Regions from separate parts of the Homo sapiens genome. Here region 1 is linked to region 2. The links are contacts of gene promoters, found by promoter capture Hi-C in blood cells and fetal thymus (Javierre and others, 2016). All regions are on one chromosome and are shown on one strand. Each heading gives the region's core, a stretch centred on a gene start or on the middle of the fragment in contact. The rest is flanking DNA. Distances are from core to core; before and after follow the strand shown.

Region 1 (3,296 bases), core at 45-2,544, 490 kb before region 2:
ATGTCAGGCTGCCCAAGCATGAGGAGGGAAGTAGGCAGAATCCTCTGGAGCCAAAGCTCTGGATGTCTCTCCCCTCTGACCATGGAGCCCACCCCTGCTCCACTGCTCCAGGGACAGCCCTATGCTGCAGGCAGCTCTGCCCCCACTCAGCATCCCAGGGGCTGATTTCTTTGGTTTTGGATCCAGCTGGATGTCTGCATTGCCGAGGCCACCAGGGCTGGCTCAGCAACTGTCGGGGAATCACCAGGGTCTGAGAAATCTTGTGCGCATGTGAGGGGCTGTGGGAGCAGAGAACCACTGGGTGGGAAATTCTAATCCCCACCCTGCTGGAAACTCTCTGGGTGGCCCCAACATGCTAATCCTCCGGCAAACCTCTGTTTCCTCCTCAAAAGGCAGGAGGTCGGAAAGAATAAACAATGAGAGTCACATTAAAAACACAAAATCCTACGGAAATACTGAAGAATGAGTCTCAGCACTAAGGAAAAGCCTCCAGCAGCTCCTGCTTTCTGAGGGTGAAGGATAGACGCTGTGGCTCTGCATGACTCACTAGCACTCTATCACGGCCATATTCTGGCAGGGTCAGTGGCTCCAACTAACATTTGTTTGGTACTTTACAGTTTATTAAATAGATGTTTATATGGAGAAGCTCTCATTTCTTTCTCAGAAGAGCCTGGCTAGGAAGGTGGATGAGGCACCATATTCATTTTGCAGGTGAAATTCCTGAGATGTAAGGAGCTGCTGTGACTTGCTCAAGGCCTTATATCGAGTAAACGGTAGTGCTGGGGCTTAGACGCAGGTGTTCTGATTTATAGTTCAAAACCTCTATCAATGAGAGAGCAATCTCCTGGTAATGTGATAGATTTCCCAACTTAATGCCAACATACCATAAACCTCCCATTCTGCTAATGCCCAGCCTAAGTTGGGGAGACCACTCCAGATTCCAAGATGTACAGTTTGCTTTGCTGGGCCTTTTTCCCATGCCTGCCTTTACTCTGCCAGAGTTATATTGCTGGGGTTTTGAAGAAGATCCTATTAAATAAAAGAATAAGCAGTATTATTAAGTAGCCCTGCATTTCAGGTTTCCTTGAGTGGCAGGCCAGGCCTGGCCGTGAACGTTCACTGAAATCATGGCCTCTTGGCCAAGATTGATAGCTTGTGCCTGTCCCTGAGTCCCAGTCCATCACGAGCAGCTGGTTTCTAAGATGCTATTTCCCGTATAAAGCATGAGACCGTGACTTGCCAGCCCCACAGAGCCCCGCCCTTGTCCATCACTGGCATCTGGACTCCAGCCTGGGTTGGGGCAAAGAGGGAAATGAGATCATGTCCTAACCCTGATCCTCTTGTCCCACAGATATCCAGAACCCTGACCCTGCCGTGTACCAGCTGAGAGACTCTAAATCCAGTGACAAGTCTGTCTGCCTATTCACCGATTTTGATTCTCAAACAAATGTGTCACAAAGTAAGGATTCTGATGTGTATATCACAGACAAAACTGTGCTAGACATGAGGTCTATGGACTTCAAGAGCAACAGTGCTGTGGCCTGGAGCAACAAATCTGACTTTGCATGTGCAAACGCCTTCAACAACAGCATTATTCCAGAAGACACCTTCTTCCCCAGCCCAGGTAAGGGCAGCTTTGGTGCCTTCGCAGGCTGTTTCCTTGCTTCAGGAATGGCCAGGTTCTGCCCAGAGCTCTGGTCAATGATGTCTAAAACTCCTCTGATTGGTGGTCTCGGCCTTATCCATTGCCACCAAAACCCTCTTTTTACTAAGAAACAGTGAGCCTTGTTCTGGCAGTCCAGAGAATGACACGGGAAAAAAGCAGATGAAGAGAAGGTGGCAGGAGAGGGCACGTGGCCCAGCCTCAGTCTCTCCAACTGAGTTCCTGCCTGCCTGCCTTTGCTCAGACTGTTTGCCCCTTACTGCTCTTCTAGGCCTCATTCTAAGCCCCTTCTCCAAGTTGCCTCTCCTTATTTCTCCCTGTCTGCCAAAAAATCTTTCCCAGCTCACTAAGTCAGTCTCACGCAGTCACTCATTAACCCACCAATCACTGATTGTGCCGGCACATGAATGCACCAGGTGTTGAAGTGGAGGAATTAAAAAGTCAGATGAGGGGTGTGCCCAGAGGAAGCACCATTCTAGTTGGGGGAGCCCATCTGTCAGCTGGGAAAAGTCCAAATAACTTCAGATTGGAATGTGTTTTAACTCAGGGTTGAGAAAACAGCTACCTTCAGGACAAAAGTCAGGGAAGGGCTCTCTGAAGAAATGCTACTTGAAGATACCAGCCCTACCAAGGGCAGGGAGAGGACCCTATAGAGGCCTGGGACAGGAGCTCAATGAGAAAGGAGAAGAGCAGCAGGCATGAGTTGAATGAAGGAGGCAGGGCCGGGTCACAGGGCCTTCTAGGCCATGAGAGGGTAGACAGTATTCTAAGGACGCCAGAAAGCTGTTGATCGGCTTCAAGCAGGGGAGGGACACCTAATTTGCTTTTCTTTTTTTTTTTTTTTTTTTTTTTTTTTTTTGAGATGGAGTTTTGCTCTTGTTGCCCAGGCTGGAGTGCAATGGTGCATCTTGGCTCACTGCAACCTCCGCCTCCCAGGTTCAAGTGATTCTCCTGCCTCAGCCTCCCGAGTAGCTGAGATTACAGGCACCCGCCACCATGCCTGGCTAATTTTTTGTATTTTTAGTAGAGACAGGGTTTCACTATGTTGGCCAGGCTGGTCTCGAACTCCTGACCTCAGGTGATCCACCCGCTTCAGCCTCCCAAAGTGCTGGGATTACAGGCGTGAGCCACCACACCCGGCCTGCTTTTCTTAAAGATCAATCTGAGTGCTGTACGGAGAGTGGGTTGTAAGCCAAGAGTAGAAGCAGAAAGGGAGCAGTTGCAGCAGAGAGATGATGGAGGCCTGGGCAGGGTGGTGGCAGGGAGGTAACCAACACCATTCAGGTTTCAAAGGTAGAACCATGCAGGGATGAGAAAGCAAAGAGGGGATCAAGGAAGGCAGCTGGATTTTGGCCTGAGCAGCTGAGTCAATGATAGTGCCGTTTACTAAGAAGAAACCAAGGAAAAAATTTGGGGTGCAGGGATCAAAACTTTTTGGAACATATGAAAGTACGTGTTTATACTCTTTATGGCCCTTGTCACTATGTATGCCTCGCTGCCTCCATTGGACTCTAGAATGAAGCCAGGCAAGAGCAGGGTCTATGTGTGATGGCACATGTGGCCAGGGTCATGCAACATGTACTTTGTACAAACAGTGTATATTGAGTAAATAGAAATGGTGTCCAGGAGCCGA
Region 2 (2,936 bases), core at 45-2,544:
CGTCTGGGAGGCAATGTAAGCACCCGCTGTAGCCCTGGAGTCAGCTGCAACTATGACTCCATGGCGGAACTGTTAAGATCAGAGGAAAACACAAAACAGGCCACATAAGACCACAAAAACACTCCTACATACTTCTTTTTGCATCAATCCAAACCCAGCACATCTCTTTCTCCGTCCTTTTATACTTCACAGTATACTTCTATACTTCACCATATATTAATGTCACCCGAGCTTCACATCAATCCCTTGACATGGATATAACCCATATTAAATTCATTTTATAGGATGGGCGTGGTGGCTCACTCCTGTAACCCAGGCATTTTGGGAGACCAAGGCGGGAGGACCGCTTGAGGCCAGGTGCTGGAGACCAGCCTGGGCAACACAGGGAGATCCATCTCTACAAAAAGTAAAAAAACTTAGCCTGTCGTGGTGGTGTGTGCCTATAGTGTCAGCTACTCTGGAGGCTGAGGCGCTGGAGCCACTGCACTCCAGCCTGAGCGACAGCGAAAAGCCCTGTTTCAAAAAAAAAAAAAAAACAAATCATTTTATAGATGAGGAAACAGGTTCAATGAAATCAAATGATTTCTCAATCTAGAGCTAGTTATTGCAGAGCTGGGCAAGGAACCCCAAATGTCTGATTCTTAGTACAATGCTTACCCTCACCACGCTTCCCCTTCATGCCAGTTTCAGTTACCCCTGCCTTGAGGGGCCGCCCAGTTTCCAAAACTTTGGTAAACGTTTACAATAGCCTTCCCTCGGCCAAGATTCATTGTTGTTGCGGCCTTTCCCAGCTAGAAGATCCTGAACAGCAGCAACCTGGGGTCGCCTAGGAATCAACCCAAGAGGCCTCACCTTCCTCCCCCGACTTACCCCCGGCCCCACCGCCACCCTTTCCAACCAGAGCAAAGACAGGGGCCTCCTGGGCCAATGAGACAGCAAAACTGCTGCGGTCCGAACGAGAGGACCCAGCCTCCGCCTGGGTTGGTGGCCAAGGCCACCGCAAACTCCGGTCAGGCTGGGAGGCCAGGCAAGTCGCGGGCGTTCAGTACTCAGCCTGGCAAGGGGGCTGGCTCCACACCTTGAAGGCCAGGGTGGTTGTTCCATGAAGCATTTCGATTCCTGGCTCTTCTGGGACACCCCAGCCTGGCGCGGCCAGGCTCAGACCATCACTGAGACTCCCTGGACCTAGATCCAGCAGATCTGCACGACCCCCAAGTCCGAAAAACCCGCGCTGGTTCACCGGTAGCGGTCTCTCCAACACGCTGGCAAGCGCCATGTCTAGTGTGGGCAGAAAGAACTAATTCTGAGAACGCCTAGCAAAGATAGGCCGGGCAACGCCTCGCCGTCACAGCTTCACTTCCTATTAAATCTATTCCGGAATGGAGCCATTTTGACTGCTGGCAAGCACGCCTCCAAAAAGAAGAGCCAGATGCGAAAGACCATTTTCACTGAAGGGGGTCGGGGAAATAGATGGCTTCACTAACCTTAAATTCTAAAAGGACGTACCTGCCATCTTGGCTTTGGTCATGCAAGTAGTCCTGGATCAGAATAACCTCAAAATCACAGGAAGTGACTGAAAACGTCCATGTTGCGTAAGGGAAGTGAGGTCGGCCATCTTTGAGAAGGGCGTGACTGGTTGAAAATCGGTTCTGAACCCTTAGCGGTGAGTCCTCCCACTCCAGCCTGGTGTCCAAGCAACAGGTTACATCGCTGCTGCTTCAGCACCTTGTTAACGCGCCTGAGGTTGCCATCTTGTTTAAGGGCACCTTCTAAAATTGGGTAAAATAATGATCCATTCTGAGGCCATTTCCCTATATTAGTTAAACCACAGCAATTAGTGGTAAAACAACGCAACAAAATAAAAGTGCTATACCTCTTGTTGTCAGTCGCCATACAGCAACCCTTCTTTAACAGTAACCGGTTATTAATATCCAATATTCGTTCTCTTGACTCCTACCTTCTGGTGGAAATTCGAATAAGTAATGAATTGCCTAAAAGGCAGATGGAAGAAGAAAAAGCAAAGGGTCCAGTTAATCCACAAACTAGATTCTCAGTTCAGACCTGAATAAGTGTCAGTAGTAATTTACCATCTCAGAGACGGGAGGACGGTTGAGACTGCATAAATATGTACCAAGAGATTCTCTAACTTCAACTTGCTAAGATGATGCCTTTTATTCAGGAACATACTATATTTCATTGCCTCTTCCTCCCTCCACCCACCTTCATTTTTCAAATCTTTTGGGAACTATAACAAACCGGGAAGTGTGCATATGTATGAAATGTTGCCTCCTGCTTTATGGTTCTATGAAGTCAGTCTCTGGCCTTCCTTGTTGGATTCTAGCAGCAACATCTATCAACACCGAAATTCCACTTTCCTCTGATGCCCAGTTCGGCCCCATCTTTCCCCCAGCAGACTCTGCATATGCTGTATTGTTTTTGTTTGTTTGTTTGTTTGTTTTTTGAGACCAAGTCTTGCTGTGTCCCCCAGGCTGGAACACAGTGGCACGATCTCTGCTCACTGCAACCTCTGCTTCCCAGGTTCAAGCGATTCTCCTGCCTCAGCCTCCCGAGTAGCTGGGATTACAGGCGCCTGCCTCCACAACAGGCTAATTTGTGTGTGTGTGTGTGTGTGTGTGTGTGTGTGTGTGTGTGTGTGTGTTTAGTAGAGACGGGGTTTCACCGTGTTAGCCAGGATGGTCTTGATCTCCTGACCTCGTGATCCACCCACCTCGGCCTCCCAAAGTGCTGGGATTACAGGCATGAGCCACCGTGCCCGGCCTCACGCCTGGCTAATTTTTGTATTTTTAGTAGAGATGGGGTTTCACCATATTGGCCACGCTGGTCTCAAACTCTTGACCTCAGGTGATCCGCTTGTTAGCCAGGATGGTCTTGATCTCCTGACCTCGTGATCCACCCACCTCGGCCTCCCAAAGTGC

Evidence for each region. Contacts are between HindIII fragments. The CHiCAGO score rates a contact against its expected background, and 5 or more counts as called.
Region 1: a contact is called between a fragment that was not itself captured here and the fragment with the promoter of PSMB5 in region 2, in 1 of 17 cell types (neutrophils). The highest score is 5.7, in neutrophils.

The regions. Positions count from the first base shown.
Region 1 is chr14:22,546,155-22,549,450 of GRCh38, forward strand. It overlaps TRA and TRAC. Among named protein-coding and RNA genes, the nearest start is that of LINC02332, 9.3 kb to the right of the region's middle. The HindIII fragment of the contact is 4,442 bases long and covers 1-3,296 here.
Region 2 is chr14:23,033,606-23,036,541 of GRCh38, forward strand. It overlaps PSMB5 (proteasome 20S subunit beta 5), which reads right to left and starts at 1,295. Exons shown (of 3, transcript NM_002797.5): 1 at 1,079-1,295; 2 at 1-69. The coding sequence starts at 1,276. RefSeq lists enhancers at 1,021-2,220, 1,021-1,690, 1,475-1,769. The HindIII fragment of the contact is 18,957 bases long and covers 1-2,936 here.